Regions from separate parts of the Homo sapiens genome. Here all the other regions are linked to region 2. Evidence: promoter capture Hi-C in 16 types of primary human blood cells and fetal thymus (Javierre and others, 2016). All regions are on one chromosome and are shown on one strand. Each heading gives the region's core, a stretch centred on a gene start or on the middle of the fragment in contact. The rest is flanking DNA. Distances are from core to core; before and after follow the strand shown.

Region 1 (2,700 bases), core at 96-2,595, 320 kb after region 2:
GCTCCCCAAGACCATCTGAGCTTGGCAACACTGGGCCCCTGCCTCCCCCAACCCACTCATTCCCAGGGTCCAGCTGTAGCATCACCTCCATGAAGCCTCTACTCTGTCACTGGAGTGCAGTGGCACAATCGTGGCTCACCACAGCTTTGAACTCCTGGGCTCAAGTGTTCCTCCCACCTCAGCCTCCTGAGTGGCTAGGACCACAGGTGTGCACCACCATGTCTGGCTACTTAAAAAATTTTCTGTAGAGACGGGGTCTTACTGCGTTGCCCAGACTGGTCTCCCACTCCTGGCCTCAATCAATCCTCCCACCTCAGCCTCCCAAAATCCTGGGATTACAGGCTTGAACCACTGTGCCCAGCCTATGCTACCTTTACTTTCGGGCAAATCTTACATTTCAATGAAATTTTCAAGGCAGAGAGCTTGTCTGTGTTTGTGCCACACATGACAGCTCACACAAAGCGATCAATTGGCAAAGGTCGAGTGCCCGCAGATCAGATGCCACACTGGCCAAGGCAGGGGCTCTTCCCTTTGACTCTTGCATGGAATGGGCCCTGACGGGAAGGTGCCAAACTCGACAGGCTTGGGGTTGAGAGAAGGGGGAGAAAGCACAGAAGCGAGGCAGCTGCCTTGCTACTGAAAAACAAGAGATCAAGAATACCAGGGTATGGGCTGGGCGTGGTGGCTCACATCTGTCATCCCAACAATTTGGAACGCTGAGGTGGGAGGATCACTTGAGACCAGGAGTTCAAGACCAGCCTGGGCAACATAGCAAGACCTTATCTCTACTCACAAAAAACTTAGCCAGGTGGTGGTGTGAACTTGTAGTCCCAGCTACTCAGGAGGCTGAAGCAGGAGGATTGCTTGAACCTAGGAGTTTGAGGCTGCAGTGAGCTAGGACTGTGCCACTGCACTCCAGCCTGGGAGACAGAGCAAGACTTCGTCTCGGAAAAAAAAAAAAAAAAGAGTAGCAGGACTCAAATCCAGTCCCATGTGCCATTCAGCAGCTGCACGATTTTACCTGTTCTTGTGCCAGTCTTCTCAGCTGTAAAGTGAGGATAACAGTTGTTCTACTTACCCACAGGATCAGAGTCAGAATCAAATAAGGACAGGCCCACGCTTTAGAAGCACTGTACAAGGCTGGGCACGGTGGCTTACACCTGTAATCCCAGCACTTTGGGAGGCCAAGGCGGGTGGATCACCTGAGGTCAAGAGTTCGAGACCAGCCTGGCCAACATGGTGAAACCCTGTCTCTACAAAAATACAAAAAAATACTAGCTGGGCATGGTGGCGGGCACCTGTAATCCCAGCTACTCGGGAGGCTGAGGCAGGAGAATTGCTTGAACCCAGGAGGTGGAGGTTGCAATCAGCTGAGATTGCGCCATTGCACTCCAGCCTGGGCCACAAGAGTGAAACTCCGTCTCAAAAAAAAAAAAAAAAAAAAAGCAGCAGCACTGTACAGATAGCAGCTGGTGTTAGTTACCAAACAGAGTTGAAAAAAGCTCAGACGGGGCCCAACTCTTGGCCCTAGGGCGAAGGTGGCTTTTATTTCCTCTCTTGGGGAAGGAGGGGGAGGGAGCTTTCCCAAGCACATCAACCTAAGGAAGGGGTGGTTGCGCCCCCAGCAGCGAGGGGCTGGAACTGCTGATCATTCGGAAGGAAGGGTTCGTTCTTGTCCACTTCCTGGCCCTTGGCTGCAGGGTGTGCTGGCAGGGGTCACTCCCCTTGGGGTGGCAGCTCCTGCATCAGTGGAGGCACAAGGAGGTATCTGCTGGTGTTCACGAAGAGGAGGGGGCAGGTGCCCTGAGTGAGGGAGAAAGGGCTGGGGTGTCCGACCCCACGCCAACGCCTGCCCAGTATGATCACTTTCATAAGGCCTGGCTGGTGGGACTCCTCCCAGGAAGGCCCTGAGGGGCCCCTTGGTAGTGCTCCACACGATGGCTGGTGCTTTAAATGTCCATCTCAAACTGTGACTCTTCACCTGGGGAGAGAGGGGACAGAGGGCCAGGTCAACAATGGGTGAATGCTTGGTATATGAGGCCATTCTTTCATTGCTATAAAGAAATACCTGAGGTTGGGTAATTTATAAAGAAAATAAGTTTTTTTTTGTTTTTTTGTTTTTTTTTTTTGAGATGGAGTCTCACTCTGTCTCCGAGGCTGGAGTGCAGTGGCCCAATTTCGGCTCACTGCAACCTCCGCCTCCTGGGTTCAAGCGATTCTCCTACCTAAGCCTCCCAAAAGAGTAGCTGGGATTATAGGCACCCACCACCACACCCAGCTAATTTTTGTATTTTTAGTAGACCCGGGGTTTTGCCATGTTGGCCAGGCTGGTCTCGAACTCCTGATCTCAGATGATCCACCCTCCTCAGCCTCCCAAAGTGCTGGGATTACAGGTGCGAGCCACCGTGCCCAGCCAAGAAAAGAGGTTTAACTGGCTCGCGGTTCTGCAGGCTGTACAAGCATGACGCCGGCCTCAGCTTGGCTTCTGGGGAGGCCTCAGGGGGCTTTTCGTCATGGTGGAAAGCAAAGCGGGAGCAGGCATGTCACATGGAGGAAGCAGGAGCAAGAGAGAGGGTGGAGTGGCGCTCCCACACTTTACAACAACCAGATCTCGAGAGAACTCATTCACTATCATGAGGACAGCACCAAGCTGTGAGGGATCTGTCCCCACGACCCAAACACCTCCCACCAGGCCCTACC
Region 2 (2,700 bases), core at 185-2,684:
CCTGCCTCGGCCTCCCAAAGTGCTGGGATTACAGGCGTGAGCCACTGCGCCCAGCCAATACTGATAATTCTCAGTATCTAGTATTAACCGGGTTACGTTTAAAAAAAATAGTTCATAATTAGTGCCCTTTTAAATAACTGATCTGTAGAAATCATTTAATTTCCTTAAGTGATATTTAAAGATAGAGATATCTAATTTCTTGTAATAGTACCAAAGACATCCAGCACTATAACGTCTACAGAGTATGACGTCTAGCGGTAAAATGGCTTTATTCTCAGAACAGAGTATCGGTTTCCTCATTTGCTTGCTGCCTCTGTTTCCTTTTTACGTTCACGTCTCTGTGCTGTAACCTTCCAAATCCTTATCACCAGGCCCCAGGAAATATCACCTGGTCGGCACACTCCTGCAGGGCCAGATCACTGTGCACACACTTAACCTTCCATTGTTTTCCATACGTTTCCTAGGATGCGGGGGGCTAGAGGATGACGGAGAGTTGCCTCCCGGTTCTTCCTCTCGTTCTTATCTTGGGCCCTCTAGGACAAATGTCCCTCACGTCCCTCGATGCGAAGGTCTGGCCGCGAGCAGCCGCGGCCTCCGGCACGTGACGGTCACGGAGCCGTCGCGGTCCCCCGCGGCTGGGGGGCACCCGGGGATGCGGCGGGCGCTGACGTCGTCCTCCCGGTTACCCACAAGCCTCCGGGCCGCAGCAGAGCAGGAAGAGGCGCGCGGGGCCGGCGCCTGCCGGGGAGGTCGAGGCGCTCCCTCGGCGAGCCGGCGCCGCCGGCCGGGTCTCCTACTGCTTGCAACCGGGGGAGGGGGACCATCCGACAGCTCAGCCGGGGCTGAGAGGGAGACGACGCCAAGGCGGTCTTGCATCGCCCCCGGCTTTCCAAATGCAGACCCTACCGGAACCGGAGCCCTTCCCTGACAGCCGTAGGACGGGAGACGGCCGAGGGGTCGCCTGGACTGCCCCGCCCTCGCGCGGTGACCCACCGGGGACCGTGCGAGGGTCGCTTCTAACCCTTAAGAGCTAGAGAGCCGAGTCACCCTGAGGAGCGCCGTATGGCGCTGGTTGCGCGTTGTTCTTTAATCAGCCTCACTGAACGCGCCGATCCCAGTTTTACCTCCCGGGCCCCACCTTTCCACGCCTCCTCCGGCTTCCCGGGGTGTTTTGTGTGTCACTCTCCCACGTACAGTCCCTCCCCGTCCCTCGTTCCTCGGCCCTCTCGCCCGGTCTCCCTAGTCGTCCAGACGCTAGCTGCCGCGGGCGTTCCTGGTTCGCGCTCCCGCCCCCTCCGCCCCGCCGACTCGCCGCTTCCTCCGGAGCCCCAGCGTCCCGAACCAGGGACTGCATTTCCCGGCAGGCGCCGCGGCCCGCGGCCAATGAGGGGCTGAGGATTTGGCGGCGGCGGCGCCCCGAGAGTCGGGGTGGGGGGGCTTTGTGCGCGGCGGCGGCGGGAGAGGCGGCGGCGGCGGCCAGCACGGAGGCGGAGGCCGAGGGGGCTGTGCACAGGTCGCCGCGGAGAGGCGTGCGAATTCCGAGCCGAGCGCCGAGGACCGTGCTACCCAGGCCGGGCTGCCAGCCGCAGGCTCCTCTCTGGCAGCAGCGGCGGCGCGGCGACCCCCGTCCCTCGGCCTCCCCTTCCCATCCCACCTCCCGAGCCTTCCTCTTCCCGCAGCACGCCCGGCCCGGCCCGGCCGTGGCCCTCCTCAGTGCCGGCCGCCATGGCAGAGGCGTCCGGCGCGGGGAAAATCTAGCCCGGGGATTTCATGCGGCCTAGCTCGGTTCCGCCTCCTCCTCGCGCGGCCCCAGCGGCTGCCCGCACCCCAGCCCCACTCCGGGCCTCCGTGTCTCTCCTGTGATCGCACTGACACGGCCGGGGGGTTAGAATGGAACAAACTGAAGGTAAAGTGCGTGTGCGTGTGTGTATGTGTGTGTGTGTGTGTGTGTGTGTGTGCGCGCGCGCGCGTGTGTAGTGCTAGGAAGGGCTGAGGAGGGAACGACGGGGAGGGGGCGACCTAGGGATGGAGCGCCAGACCCCAGGAGGAATGGAAGGGGAAGCGGGTGGCCTGAAAGGGCTCGAGGGGAGTCCTGACGGAGGAGCAGATGGCAAGGTGGGGGGTGTGGAGGGAATTGGGGGGTGGGCCAGGGGAGGTGGGGAGTGGGATGGGAGTCGGAGTGGCGCTGAGCTGGGAATTGGGAAAGTGGGATGGGGGCGGGGATAAGGATGGATCGGGGAGGGGCAGGGAAAGGGGAGAAGAGTTGCATGGAGATTACAGACCTGGGTGGACTGATAAATAGGGAGATTTGGGGATGGAGTGTAGGAACCAGAAGAGTCTGGGAGAAGGGGATAAATTTGCTGGAGAAATGGGGCATTTTATGGGAATGAAGGGAGAAATGAGGAATGGAAGTGAAGGAAAAGGTGGATTAGGAAAGGGGATGAGGCAGGCTGCAATAGGAGAATGGGAAATAGACGCAGGAAACTGGAAGACAGGATTGGGCTAGGGAAGGAAATTAACTGAATGATGACAGGGATGAGAACGATCGACTTAGCGTCAGAGTGGGAGGAAGAGAAGGGGATGGAGGTCGTTAAAGTGTTAGGAAGGGAGGCCTTTTGTTCCTGTATTTGTGTGTATTCTGTGTCTTTCTTTCAAGGCTAGAGAATAGAGAAGCTGGTGGTTATGGGATTGTGATTGTTG
Region 3 (2,700 bases), core at 64-2,563, 340 kb before region 2:
TGGGGCAGCAAAACCTGACCTCAACTGACCTGAAGTTACGTACTATCCTACTTAGCTTGAATATTCTTACATTTCGCTGCAGAAAGGGTTTATATGTTTGATTACAAGGTGCTCCCCTAGCCCACTCGGGGTTTGATATAATAAAAGGTATATTGGGTTGTGTCACTGTGTGCGGAATTGGTGGGTTCTTGGTCTCACTGACTTCAAGAATGAAGTCGGGGACCCTTGCGGTGAGTGTTACAGTTCTTAAAGGCAGCGTGTCCGGAGTTTGTTTGTTCTGATGTTTGGATGTGTTCGGAGTTTCTTCCTTCTGGTGGGTTTGTGGTCTCGCTGGATCAGTAGTGAAGCTGCAGACCTTCGTGGTGAGTGTTACAGCTCTTAAGGCGGCGCGTCTGGAGCTGTTCGTTCCTCCCGGTGGGTTCGTGGTCTCGCTGGCTTCAGGAGTGAAGCCGCAGACCTTCACGGTGAGTCTTACAGCTCATAAAGGCAGTGTGGACCCAAAGAGTGAGCAGCAGCAAGATTTATTGCAAGGAGCAAAAGAACAAAGCTTCCATAGTGTTGAAGGGGACCCCAGCAGGGTGCCACTGTTGGCTCCAGCAGCCTGCTTTTATTCTCTTATCTGGCCCCACCCACATCCTGCTGATTGGTCCATTTTACAGAGAGCAGAGTGGTCTGTTTTGACAGGGTGCTGATTGGTGCGTTTACAATCCCTGAGCTAGACACAGAGGTTCTCCACCTCCCCACCAGATTAGCTAGATACAGTGTGGACACAAAGGTTCTCCAAGTCCCCACCAGAGTAGCTAGATATAGAGTGTCCATTGGTGCATTCACAAACCCTGAGCTAGATAGACACAGGGTGCTGATTGGTGTGTTTACAAACCTTGAGCTAGATACAGAGTGCAGATTGGTGTATTTACAATCCCTTAGCTAGACATAAAGGTTCTCCACGTCCCCACCAAACTCAGGAGCCCAGCTGGCTTCACCCAGTGGATCGGGCACCGGGGCTGCAGGTGGAGCTGCCTGCCAGTCCCACGCCGTGCGCCTGCACTCCTCAGCCCTTGGGTGGTCGGTGGGACTGGGCGCCGTGGAGCAGGGGGCGGCGCTCGTCGGGGAGGCTAGGGCCGCAAAGGAGCCCACAGAGGCGGGGGAGGCTCAGGCATGGCGGGCTGCAGGTCCCGAGCCCTGCCCCGCGGGAAGGCAGCTAAGGCCCGGCGAGAAATTGAGCCCAGCAGCTGCTGGCCCAGGTGCTAAGCCCCTCACTGCCCGGGGCCGGTGGGGCCCGCCAAGCCCATGCCCACCCGGAACTCGCGCTGGCCCGGAAGCACCGCGCGCAGCCCCGGTTCCCGCCCGCGCCTCTCCCTCCACACCTCCCCGCAAGCTGAGGGAGCCGGCTCCGGCCTTGGCCAGCCCAGAAAGGGGCTCCCACAGTGCAGTGGCAGGCTGAAGGGCTCCTCAAGTGCGGCCAAAGTGGGAGCCCAGGCAGAGGAGGCGCCGAGAGCGAGCGAGGGCTGTGAGGACTGCCAGCACGCTGTCACCTCTCATTACCTTCCTAAAACCTGAGAAAATCCAGAATCCCGAAGTACACCCGGCTCTAGGGTAAGAGATTGTAAATCTGAACTACTGACTGTAAAGGGAGGGAGGAGGGAGGAAAGAAGGGAGGGAGGAGGGACGAAGGTACTTTAGTGAAATTGATCTTATCTTGTTTCTCCCCTAGCCATTATCAATAACACACATACTTCTACAAAAGGAGGACTTCCATTCCAAATACAAGATATTATGTACTTTTTCATTTCTCTCTTTAGGGTTCCCTCCACCATCCATTCGGTTGCACACACCGGAAGGGCGTAAAGGGTTTTATAAGGATGAAGGGAGACACCTTGCCTGAAGCACCTGGGCGGCCCCAAGGACTCTTCTTCCTCCTACCCAAGCCAATCAGACTTGGAGTCCTGGCAAATCAGAGAAATCCCGGGGGAAAAACAAAGAATCTCTGTTGATACACTCACATCATTCATTCATTTGATACATACATATTAAGCACCTACTTAATATGTGCCAGATACTCTGTGATTAATAAGCTTATTGTCTCCTGCTGACCCTGTGCCATCCCCGGGTAGACTCGGGGATTGTCTTGGGCTCTGCAAATTACTCAGCACTTTGGGAGGCCAAGAGGAGAGGATCACTTGAGCTCAGGAGCTTGAGACCAGCCTGGACAACACGACGAGACCTTGTCTCTACAAAAAAATTTTAAAAATTAGCCAGGAGGATGGCTTGAGGCCGAAAGTTGCTGACCAGCCTGGGCAACGTAGTGAGACTCCTTTCTACAAAAAAAAAATTAAAAATTAGGTGGGTGTGGTGGCGGGTGCCTGTAGTCCCAGCTACTCAGAGGCTGAGGTAGGAGCATTGCTTGAGCCCAGGAGGTCAAGGCTGCACTAAGTCATGATTGCGGCACTGCACTCCAGCCTGGGATACAGACTGAGACCCTGTCTCAAAACAGAAGAAGAAGGAGAAGGAGGAGGAAGAGTAGGAGGAGGAGGCTACAGCAGGTGCTGCTAAAGGGAAGAGGAAAAACCCACTCGTAGACTCAGTCCATAGCTGTCTTTTCCACCATCCCTAAACTTTTAATCATATCCTTGATTTTCACTCTGAAGATTTCACCTGTTTAAAACTTCTGCCCTTGGGGAGACATGGCTGATGGAGGCA
Region 4 (2,700 bases), core at 181-2,680, 400 kb before region 2:
ATTTGATTTCAATCAAAATTCCGAGGGGATTTTTCTTAGAATTCGTCAATAATGTTTAAAAGTTTATCTGGAAAAATAAACTGGTGAACATATTTTAGATTTTGTAAAAAAAAAACAAAAAAAAACAACACCAACAAGAAGAGTGAAGAATAGACTAGTCCTACAAGACATTGAGACACATTTATGCAAAAATAGCCAGATCTTTGTTCTGTAACACAGAACAGAAAGCCCAGGAAAAGATCTTACAAGATACAGGAATTTATTATATACCAAAAAAGATGGCTTGAACCCGGGAGGCGGAGGTTGCAGTGAGCCAAGATCGTGCCACTGCACTCCAGCCTGGGCAACAGAGCGAGACTCTATCTCAAAAAAAAAGAACAAACAACAAAAATATAAAGAACATGTTACAATATGTAAGGAGAAGGAAGATTTATGATTGGAGCATAGTTGGCTGGCAATGGGAAAAAAGATCAAGTTAAACCCTTACCTCAGAGCATATACCAGGATAAATTCCAGATGGATTAGATGACTAAATAATAAAAATCGAACCATTGGGAGAAAACAGTCTACAAGCAACAGAATCTATCAGAGCTCTGTAGGAAGGATGAGGATCCAACTTACAAGTAATTAATGAAATCAGACACAAAATAAAGATAGATTTGGTTACATTTAAAAAAATGAAGCTTCTGACTGTGTGCCTTCAAGTTAAAAGGCAAACAACAGGCCATGGAAAAACAAAGGCTGTTAGTATTGTTATTACCTAAGGAACTCGTGAAAACAAGTAAGATCATTTAAGCCCCAAAAGAAAAGTGAACAATTATAACTGCTTACTATGTGTTAGACACTACACTTTACATGAATCGTCTCATTTAATCTCCCCCACTTACTCCTACAATCTCAGGAGGAAAGTATTGTTACGGCCTTTTTGTTGTTGTTAACAAGTTAACTTGGCTGCATTTCACCCTCTACAGCAGAGGCTTAGCAAGGAAGGGTTTCAGAAGGTCCTGGCCTCCCTGAAATTGTATGCAAAAAGTATGTGTGTGTGCATATTTGCATCAGTCTCTCCCTCTCCTCTTCCCCACATACAGTCAAGCCCCACTCCAGGAATAATGTTTTAGGTTGACTAAAGATTGATTTTCGAATCTGAAAGGGAACTAATATAAAATTCTTCAGTATAAGGAAGTACTGGCCAAAAAAGCCCTTATACGGAAAATCCAGACCTGCCAGAAGTTAGTGTAGAAAACAGCCAGCTTTGAAGACACCCGGAGGGTGGAAAAGGGCGGAGAGCAGGCCTAGCAGTGCTCACCACTCCAGGCAGGGTGTGCCCTTCCCCAAATGCCCAGTGGGAGCCCATGTTACTGGGCAGCCTGTGGGTTTCATCTAAGTGACTGTGTGGTGACCAAAGTGTGAAATGCTCATTTCAAGAAGGCATTTGCCAGTTGAGCCAAAGTACCATAAAAAAAGAGCATTTCAGCCAGGCATAGTGGCATCTTCCTATAATCCCAGCACTTTTGGAGGCTGAGGCAGGAGGATAACTTGAGCCCAGGACTTTGAGACCAGCCTGAGCAACATAGCAAAACCCCATCTCTATAAAAAAATTAAAAAGTAGCCAGGCGTGGTGGTGTTCGCCTGTAGTCCCAGCTAATCTTGAGCCCAGGAGGATCGCTTGAGCCCAGAAGGTCAAGGCTGAAGTAAGCCGTGATTGTGGCATTGCATTCCAGATTGGGTGACAGAGCGAGACCTTGTCTAAAAAGAAAAGAAAAAAAAAAAAAAAACCCAAGGACCCCTACTGATACAAATGAGAATCCTCAAAGGCACAAAAAATTGGGCCAGAGCATAAAAGGCATACTTTATGTGGGAGGTGCAAAAGGATTAATTTTAACATCTCTTTCTTTGGGATGCTCTTTCGCTATACTTCCTTTTAGGGTGGTTTCTTCCAAGAAACTATGTTGATGAGGGAAATGACACCCAGGAGCCTCTCCCCATCTGGGAAAAAGTAGCAAGGCTCAGCAAAGAAAGGAGGCATCAAACAGGTTGCCAAGGCCTGATTTTGTGAAGCAGGAAGCCTAAAAACTGGGGAAGCACTCTTTAAGAAAAATGCTAAAGGACCCCATGAACACAGTGCTAGGGCCACACTAGTATGAAGGGGCCCATGCAAGGGAGGGGACTGAAGCTTAGGCTTCCTCAGCTTCATAGTAAATTCAGCTCTGCCCAGAGAACAAAAGAGATTCCTGCCTGTGGCTCAGGAGTGGTTCAGCTGGCCTCAACTCAGTAAGTGAAATGTCCATTTATGGAGCGAGGGGGTCACACTGACCTCTGTCTTCTTAGAGGAAACAAAAATATTTAACTGTTGGAAACTGGATAAAACTGTCAAAAGATATCTCCTACACAGATTGTGAAACATAATTCATGGCTCTGTTCCTTCTGTACCCATTGTAAACACACACATACACACACACACACACACACACAATTTTAATTATTAAGATAAAAAAGCAAAAGGCCAGGTGTGGTGGCTCATGATTGTAATCCCAACACTTTGGGAGACGAAGGCAGGAGGATCGCTTGAGCCCAGGAGTTTGAGACCAGCCTGGACCACACAGTGAGAGCCCATCTCTACACACATGCACACACACAAAGATAAAAAAGAAAAACTATAATGCTTCTTTAACATTGTGTGTCTATGCACCTCTACTCTTT
Region 5 (2,700 bases), core at 108-2,607, 360 kb after region 2:
CCAGCTACTTTCAAGGATGAGGTAGGAAGATGACCTGAGCCCCAGAGGTGGAGGTTGCCATGAGCCAAGATTGCACCACTGCACTCCAGCCAGGGCTCAAAAAATAAATAAATAATATAAGATAAAAATAGACCAGGCCTTGCTGGTTGCAGCGATGTGCACTTGTAATCCCAGCCCTAGCTGGGATTACAAGGCCAGAGGATTGCTTGAGGCCGGGAGTTCAGAGACCAGCCTGGGCAACATAGTAAGACCTTGTTTCAAAAAAGAGAGAGTTTCAGGCCGGGTGTGGTGGCTCACGCCTGTAATCCCAACACTTTGGTAGGCCGAGGGGGGCAGATCACGAGGTCAGGAGATTGAGACCATCCTGGCTAACACGGTGAAACCCCATCTCTACTAAAAATACGAAAAAAAAAAATTACCCGGGCATGATGGCAGACGCCTGTAGTCCCAGCTACTCGGGAGGCTAAGGCAGGATAATCGCTTCAAACTGGGAGGCAGAAGTTGCAGTGGGCTGAGATCGTGCCACTGCACCCATCCTGGGTGACAGAGCGAGACTCCATCTCAAAAAAAAAAAGAGTTTCACTCTGTTGCCTGGGCTGGAGTGCAGTGGCTAATTATAGGCACAATCATAACTCAGTGCAGCTTCCAACTCCTGGGCTCAAGCCATCCTCCCACCTCAGCCTCCCCAGTGGCTGGGATTACAGGTGCATGCCACTGCACTTGGCTAATTAAAGAAAAGAATTTTTTGGCCGGGCGAGGTGGCTCATGCCTGTAATCCCAGCACTTTGGGAGGCCGAGGCAGACAGATCACCTGAGGTCAGGAGACCACCTGGCCAACATGGTGAAACCCTGTCTCTACTAAAAATACAAAAATTAGCCAGGCGTGGTGGTGTGTGCCTGTAATCCCAGCTACTCAGGAGGCTGAGACAGGAGAATCACTTGAACCCAGGAGGCATAGGTTGCAGTGAGCCAAGATCCTGCCACTACACTTTAGCCTGGGCAACAGCAAGACTCCATCTCAAAAAAAAAAAAATTTTTGTAGAAATGAGATCTTGCTATGTTACCTAGGTTGGTCTCAAACTCCTGGCCTCAAGTGATCCTCCCTCCTCAGCCTCTTAAAGTTTTGGGATTACAGGCATGAGCCACTGTGACTGGCCCCTCTACCTTTTTCTAGAGCAGGAACTCATTCATATGGAAAAAACAGCTTTTATCTGAGGAATGGGAATCCTTTTAAATTATCAGGCCTAGACATTAAAATGAGACAGCAATCACGTCCCACTACCCCCTTTTGAGCTATGTATTCATCTCTTGAAACTGCTTGCTATTGTCACAAGTAGCCATAAATTAACCTATTAATAATAATGCTGCACTAAAGACTATATAGGGTGTGGACACTATAACTTAACAGTGTATAGCCAAGGCTGGGTGCAGTGGCTTACTCCTATGATTTCCACACTTTGGCAAGCCAAGGTGAGAGGATGGCTTGAGGCCAGGAGTTTGAGACCAGCCTGGGCAACAGAGAGACCCTCCCCCTTCATCTCTACAAAAAAATTTTTAAAATGTGGCCGGGAGTTGTAGCTCACGCCTATAATCCTAGCACTTTGCGAGGCCGAGGCAGGCGGATCACCTGAGGTCAGGAGTTTGAGACCAGTCTGGCTAACATGGTGAAACCCCGTCTCTACTAAAAATGCAAAAAGTAGCCAGGTGTGGTGGTATGCGCCTGTAGTCCCAGCTACTAGGGAAGCTGAGACAGGAGAATCGCTTGAACCTGGGTGGCAGAGGTTGCACTGAGCCAAGATCACGCCACTGCACTCCAGCCTGGGTGACAGAGTGCCTCATCTCAAAAATAAAATAAAATTAAAAATTAAAAATCAATGTATGGAGAATGATTAATTGATACTATTTCTGTAAACCAATGAGATTTCTTGACAGACCACTTTGTATCAGAACCTATTGCCTTAAACTTGTAACTTGTAAACTTGTAATTCCTGTTAATTGGAGTGTATATTCAGGACATGAATCTATGCTCCTGGGTTGCAGTCCTCAAGTTTAGCCCAAATAAACTCCCTACTTATATTAATTTTGCCTCAGCTTCTTCCTTAGGTTGACAATATCAAGTCTTGTAATTGAGTAGAAAAGGACATAGGAAAAAAACCCAAATTCTTCTTCTTCTTCTCACATGTCCAACTCCACACTCAGACACCAGCTGGGTGAGGTTTCCTCCTTACACAGCAACCGAGCAATTTGGCCAAGGTAGATTCTCCAAGGGACACCAGCTCGATGTCCTCTAATTCAGTCAAATTCTGACATTATCTGCCTGGAGATAGTGCAAGATCCCACAGGTTAAGGGCTCAGTCCTACAAGACTGCCCCCCACTTGAGATGTCAGTCAAAAGTACAGCCTGTGATCTGTGCTTCTGACAACCCGGGCCTTGGGTTTGATTCATTTGCTAGAGTGGCTCACAAAACTCAGGGAAACACTTAGGTTTCCCGGTATTTTATAAAGAGTATTACAAAGAAGCAAGGCACAGGCACGTACGCGCCTGTAGTCCTAGCTATTTGAGAGGCTGGGGTGGGAGAATCACTTGAGCTCAGGAGTTTGAGGCCAGCCTGGGCAACATAGTGAGGCTTCATCTCTAAGTATAAATAAATAATCTAGTGATTTTTAAATTATTATTATTATTGTTTGAGACACATTCTC
Region 6 (2,700 bases), core at 173-2,672, 390 kb after region 2:
TTACTTTCATGCTGCTCATACCATTATCATGATTAGTGAGTTCTCATGAGATCTGATGGTTTTATAAGAGGTTCCCCCTTCACTTGGCTCTCATTCTTCTCCTTCCTGCTGCCATGTGAAGAAAGACATGTTTGCTTCCCCTTCCTCCAAGATTGTAAGTTTCCTGAGGCCTCCTCAGACCTGTGGAATTGTGAGTTAATTAAACTTCTTTTCTTTATAAATTACCCAGTCTTGGGTATGTCTTTATAGCAGTGTGAGAACAGACACAGGCACATGCCACCACATCTGGGTAATTTTTTTGTATTGATGGGGTTTTGCCATGTTGTCTAGTCTGGTCTGGAACTCCTGGACTCAAGCAATTCACCTGCCTTGGCCTCCCAGAGTGCTAGGATTACAGGCATGAGCCACTGCACCTGGCCCAGGCCTCTCTTCATATGTGGTGAAGGATGTGGGACCTGATGATTTCCAAAGCCTTTTGCAGTTCTAGATTCTATAACTTGGCCAAAGCCTTTGTGATCTGGTGGACACAGAGGTTGAGATCAAGATAAAATAGATATTCTCCCAAAAGAGGAATCTGCAGGCCTGGATGGTTTCACTGGATAATTCATTCAAACACTCATAGAACAGCAGACATCTCTTTTGCACAACCTTTTCCAGAAAATAGAGGAGGGAACACTTGCTAACTGATTTTATGACACCAGTATTGTCTTATTATTATTATTATTTGGGATGGAGTTTCACTCTCGTCACCCAGGCTGGAATGCAATGGTGTGAACTTGGCTCACTGCAATCTCCACCTCCCAGGTTCAAGTGATTCTCCTGCCTCAGCCTCCCAAGTAGCTGGGATTACAGGTGTAAGCCACCACACCCAGCTAATTTTTGTAGTTTTAGTAGAGACAAGGTTTCAACTTGTTGGCCAAGTTGGTCTCTAACTCCTGACCTCAAGCAATCCACCCTCCTTGACCTCCCAAAGTGCTGGGATTACAGGTATGAGCCACTGTTCCCGGCCAATTTTATGAGACCAAAAACAGACAAAGGGCCGGGTGCGGTGGCTCATGCATGTAATCCCAGCACTTTGGGAGGCCGAGGCAGGCAGATCATAAGGTCAGGAGATCGAGACAATCCTGGCCAACATAGTGAAACCCCGTCTCTACTAACAGTACAAAAATTACCTGGGCTTGGTGGCAGGTGCCTGTAATCCCAGCTACTGGGGAGGCTGAGGCTGGAGAATCGCTTGAACCTGGAGGCAGAGGTTGCAGTGAGCCGAGATCACGCCACTCTACTCCAGCCCGGCAACAGAGTGTGACTCCATCTAAAAAAAAAACCAAAACAAACAACAACAACAACAACAACAAAACAGACAAAGGCAGTACTAAAATGGAAAACTCTAGAGCAATATCTCCCATGAACTTAGATGTAAAATCCTTAATAAAATATTAGCAAATTGAATCTATCAACGTAAAAGAATTATAAATATAAGCTCCAGCACAGTGGCTCATGCCTGTAATCCTAGCACTTTAGCAGGCCATGGTAGGCAGATCTCTTGAACCCAGGAGTTTCAGACCAGCCTGGGCAGCATGGTGAAACTCCATTGCTACAAAAAATAGAAAAATGAGCCAGGGATGGTAGTGCATGCCTGTAGTCCTAGCTACTCCGGAGGCTGAGGTGGGAAGATCACCTGACCCTGGAGAGGTCGAGGCTGCAGTGAGCTGTAATCGTGCCACTGCACTCCATCTTGGGTGACAGAGTGAGACTCTGTCTCAAAAAAATAAAATAAAAATAGAATTACTAATATAAGTATAACAATAATTATATACTGTAACCAAGTAGGACTTATTCCCATTATATAGGCTGGTACAACACTCAAAAGTCTGCCATCAAGAAAGGAAGGTAAAAAAACAAGTCTTCCATATCAAGTGATCAATAGAGTTTAGATATTTAAAAAGTCCACCATATCAACAAGCTAAAGAAAAAAATCATATAATCATATCAGTTGGTGAAGAAAAAGCATTTGATGAAATCTAGCGCACATTTATGATAAAAACTCTCAGCAAGTTAGGAATAGAGGGCAACTACCTTAACTTGATAAAGAGCATCTACAAAAAACCTGACAGCCCACATCATAGTGAATGGTGAAAGACTGAATGCTTTCTCCCTAAGACTGGGAAAAAGGTAAGGATGCCTGCTCTCCCCTCTCTTATTCACCCTAGTTCTGAAAGTTCTAGCCACTGCAATAAGACAAGAAAAAGAAATAAAGGACATATGAAATGGAAAGGAAGAAATAAAACTGTTTCTCTTTGCAGATGACATGATTGTCTATAAAGAAAATCCGAAATAATCTACAAAATAAAGCTGACCCCCAAACCAAAACCCTCTTATAATTGGTTGTGAATTAAACAGGTTACAAGATACAAGATCAACACACAAAAATCCATCATGTTTATGTATACTAACAACAAACATGTGGAAACTGAAATTTAAAACACTGCATCATTTACAAATGGTCCAAAGAAAGTGAAACACTTAAGCATAAGCTGAACAAAACTTGCACAGGCTCTGCAAGCTGAAAATTACAAAATGTTGATGAAATAATTTATTTATTTATTTATTTATTTATTTTGTGATGGAGTCTTGCTCTTTGCCCAGGCTGGAGTGCAGTGGCTTGATCTCAGCTCACTGCAACATCTGCCTCCTGAGTTC
Region 7 (2,700 bases), core at 117-2,616, 420 kb before region 2:
AAATGGAGCAGGAGGAATGTCCTGTGATTTCTAGTAAAATGTTCAACTATACCACACAGATTTGCTCTGTTGTCCAGGCTGGAGTACAGTGGGGCGATTACGGCTCACTGGAGCCTCAACCTCCCAAGCTCAAGTGATCCTCCCACCTTAGCCTTCTGAGCAGCTGGGACTAAAGGCACAAGCCATCATGCCCTGCTAATTTTTTGTTTGTTTGTTTTTGGTAGAGTCGGGGTCTCATTTTGTTGCCCAGGCTGGTCTCAAGCAATCCTCCTGCTTTGGCCTCCCAAAGTGCTGGGATTACAGGAGTGAGCCAGCACACACATCCAAAGTACATGCTTTAAATAGTGTCTTATGTGTGTCACTTGGAGAGACACATGCTTGAGAGAGGTGGTAGGTCTCACCATCCCATCAATTTGGGGTTTTAAATTTCTCTTGAGGAAGCCCACATGTGCTACATAAATTCTATTTACAGAAAGAGGTGAAAAAAATGACATCATCCCTCTTTTCCACAACAGATGTAGCCAAGTATGGTATATGAAACATCCTAGAGTTATAATTGTCAAGCCCAAAAGGCTTTTTTTACTTTGTGGGCAGGGGGATTTTTAAAATTCTAACTTTTAACATTTGCCTTCTTCCTTTTAACATTTGACCTCCAGATTTGCGGGGGAATTTCTTCCCTCACAAATTCCCTATCTTTTGCTGCTAAAACTTCTTGGGATGCCAAGGCGGCCAAGAGGTCTGGGAAACAGGACAGGGCTAGCTCCCTCCAGACTCGGAGCCCCACAGGGGCCTTACTCTTTGTATCCCTGGGAGCAGAAACTGAGCGTCCAAGACAGAGCTGATGCTCAATCAGTGCCCACTGCAGGGCAAGTGTCTGATACATAAAGGACTCCTCCTCACCTCATCTGTCGCATACTGAGAAGGCCTAGCTAATTGTTCAGTGATGCCGCAGCTCAGCTCTAGGCTAACGGCTGGGGGATGGCTTGGCATAGCTCTTCCCTTGGCCCTTTGCCCTGAAGGTCCCACTCCTCCTTTCCGTGCCTTGGTCTTGCCCTCCCAGCTCTCCTCCCCCACACTGAATCAAGGGCTTCAGGAGGGAAACAAGCGTGATTCTGGCACCAACCCTTTCTGCTCAAGTGGTCTGCCCTGAGGAGACTGTTAATCAGATGTATATTAGCATTAATGCTAAAAGTCCAAAATTTGAGTGTTTTTTTCCCCCAGTTTCATGTCTTTGGGTTCCCAGTCTCTCTGATTCCTCCAAAGTTGAAGTGTATTTTATATATGTTCGTTCTCACTTAGTCATCAGCCTTAAAATGGAGAAGTACACAATTTATTGTCCAGGGTTGGAACAACCGTACAATAGGCCCTTTTCCAGGAATGCGGGATACAATCTAAGGGTATGGGCTGCATAGCTCACATTTCCCCAACAACTGCTGGGGCCCAGGATCCCCGGAAGCATGGGAGAGGGGTGGGTCAGCGGGATTCTGAGTGGGTGAGTCAAGGCAGACCATCCTCTTAGGTACATCATAGTTTTAAGCTGTCTCACCAACCAAAGCAGAAAAATACACATACACACACACACACACACACACACACACACACACGCAGAACCCAGACAACAAACTACCTGTTTAAACCCCTTCCTAACCTCCAAAAAACCCCCAAACAAAAACATTACCCAGAAGTCACGGTAGGGCAAATTTCATTGCTTTTTTAAGAGACAGGGCACCAGCTACACTGCTGTTCTCCTGAGATAAGCCTCTAACTCCTGAGAGAGGCTCCCCCTAAAACCTAAGACTCTACAGGTAAAGAATAATCTGGAAAACCACTTGGTAAACTGAAAAAAGTTTGTACTAAGGATGAAGAAAGCACTTCAAATTTCCAAAACAGCACTTTATGCTATTTTATTTAAAAAGACACCCAAGCCAGGTGTAGTGGTACACGCCTGTAGTCCCAGCTACTCGGAAGGCTGAGTCAGGAGGATCCCTTAAGACTGGGAGTTGAGGCTGCAGTGAGCTATGATTGTACCACCACACTCCAGCCTGGGCAACACAGCAAGACCCTGTCTCTAAAAAAAAAAAAGGAAGAAAAATAAAAAGAGACCCAAACCGTATCTCTAAAGGCCAAGATTATAAGGTAAGAGGATGGGACTTGCTTATCAGGAAGTGTCCACCCACCAGGAAGCCAAAGCCTCCTCCAGAGAAGCCAATCCAGCAATGAATGTGTCTTCTCTTCTCACTCATGAGATGCCCATGGGTTCTGGAACCATCTGGATTTGTTTGAGGTTATATTTTAGACAGAGTAGAAATCCCCTTCCACAGACAGAAATCATAGAAGGCCCTCCCCACAAAACTTCTCCCCCATCCCCAACCTATTCTGGCAGGAAGAGCAAGGGGGGAAAGAGCACGTGCTAACAGATGGGGCTCCTGTGCAGAGATCTGGGATTGTGTAACTTCAATCTGTTGCTGCCAAACAACCATAATGTGCATCTCTTCAGAAATAATTACTGGAAAATTCAAAATACCAACTGCCTCTCTCACAAAGTAGCAACCACCCACATGGAGCTGAGAAGCTGATGCTGGATAAAGAAGAAGAGGGAGGAATGTTCAGCAAGAGAGGGGCCTCCAGACAGAGCAATCTCAGCCAGCATGCTGGGTGCATGAGACACATCCATGGCAGGACCACAAGCCAATAGGCGGC

Evidence for each region. Contacts are between HindIII fragments. The CHiCAGO score rates a contact against its expected background, and 5 or more counts as called.
Region 1: a contact is called between a fragment that was not itself captured here and the fragment with the promoter of NSD3 in region 2, in 2 of 17 cell types (erythroblasts and endothelial precursors). The highest score is 5.8, in erythroblasts.
Region 3: a fragment that was not itself captured here is called in contact with the fragment with the promoter of NSD3 in region 2 in 7 of 17 cell types (M2 macrophages, M0 macrophages, M1 macrophages and 4 more); the score reaches 26.1 in M2 macrophages.
Region 4: a fragment that was not itself captured here is called in contact with the fragment with the promoter of NSD3 in region 2 in 9 of 17 cell types (megakaryocytes, M2 macrophages, activated CD4 T cells and 6 more); the score reaches 9.9 in megakaryocytes.
Region 5: a fragment that was not itself captured here is called in contact with the fragment with the promoter of NSD3 in region 2 in 3 of 17 cell types (fetal thymus, non-activated CD4 T cells and activated CD4 T cells); the score reaches 5.8 in fetal thymus.
Region 6: a contact is called between a fragment that was not itself captured here and the fragment with the promoter of NSD3 in region 2, in 1 of 17 cell types (neutrophils). The highest score is 5.2, in neutrophils.
Region 7: a contact is called between a fragment that was not itself captured here and the fragment with the promoter of NSD3 in region 2, in 4 of 17 cell types (neutrophils, M2 macrophages, fetal thymus and 1 more). The highest score is 5.7, in neutrophils.

Annotation. Positions count from the first base shown.
Region 1 is chr8:38,059,185-38,061,884 of GRCh38, reverse strand. It overlaps EIF4EBP1 (eukaryotic translation initiation factor 4E binding protein 1), which reads right to left. Exons shown (of 3, transcript NM_004095.4): 3 at 1,520-1,981. The coding sequence ends at 1,950. Among named protein-coding and RNA genes, the nearest start is that of EIF4EBP1, 30 kb to the right of the region's middle. The HindIII fragment of the contact is 3,672 bases long and covers 1-2,700 here.
Region 2 is chr8:38,381,005-38,383,704 of GRCh38, reverse strand. NSD3 (nuclear receptor binding SET domain protein 3) reads left to right here and starts at 1,434. Exons shown (of 24, transcript NM_023034.2): 1 at 1,434-1,906. It also overlaps a transcript of LETM2 not described here. RefSeq lists silencers at 528-877, 1,068-1,217, 1,248-1,647 and enhancers at 1,296-2,086, 2,377-2,700. The HindIII fragment of the contact is 5,398 bases long and covers 1-2,700 here.
Region 3 is chr8:38,718,525-38,721,224 of GRCh38, reverse strand. No RefSeq gene overlaps it. Among named protein-coding and RNA genes, the nearest start is that of TACC1, 67 kb to the left of the region's middle. RefSeq lists an enhancer at 1,071-1,592. The HindIII fragment of the contact is 1,528 bases long and covers 550-2,077 here.
Region 4 is chr8:38,778,047-38,780,746 of GRCh38, reverse strand. It overlaps a transcript of TACC1 not described here. Among named protein-coding and RNA genes, the nearest start is that of TACC1, 7.8 kb to the left of the region's middle. The HindIII fragment of the contact is 1,490 bases long and covers 686-2,175 here.
Region 5 is chr8:38,025,486-38,028,185 of GRCh38, reverse strand. No RefSeq gene overlaps it. Among named protein-coding and RNA genes, the nearest start is that of EIF4EBP1, 3.7 kb to the left of the region's middle. The HindIII fragment of the contact is 5,744 bases long and covers 1-2,700 here.
Region 6 is chr8:37,989,763-37,992,462 of GRCh38, reverse strand. No RefSeq gene overlaps it. Among named protein-coding and RNA genes, the nearest start is that of ADRB3, 25 kb to the right of the region's middle. The HindIII fragment of the contact is 5,430 bases long and covers 1-2,700 here.
Region 7 is chr8:38,797,511-38,800,210 of GRCh38, reverse strand. The region is part of intron 2 of TACC1 (transforming acidic coiled-coil containing protein 1); the gene reads right to left. Among named protein-coding and RNA genes, the nearest start is that of TACC1, 12 kb to the right of the region's middle. RefSeq lists enhancers at 2,328-2,487, 2,558-2,697. The HindIII fragment of the contact is 2,900 bases long and covers 1-2,700 here.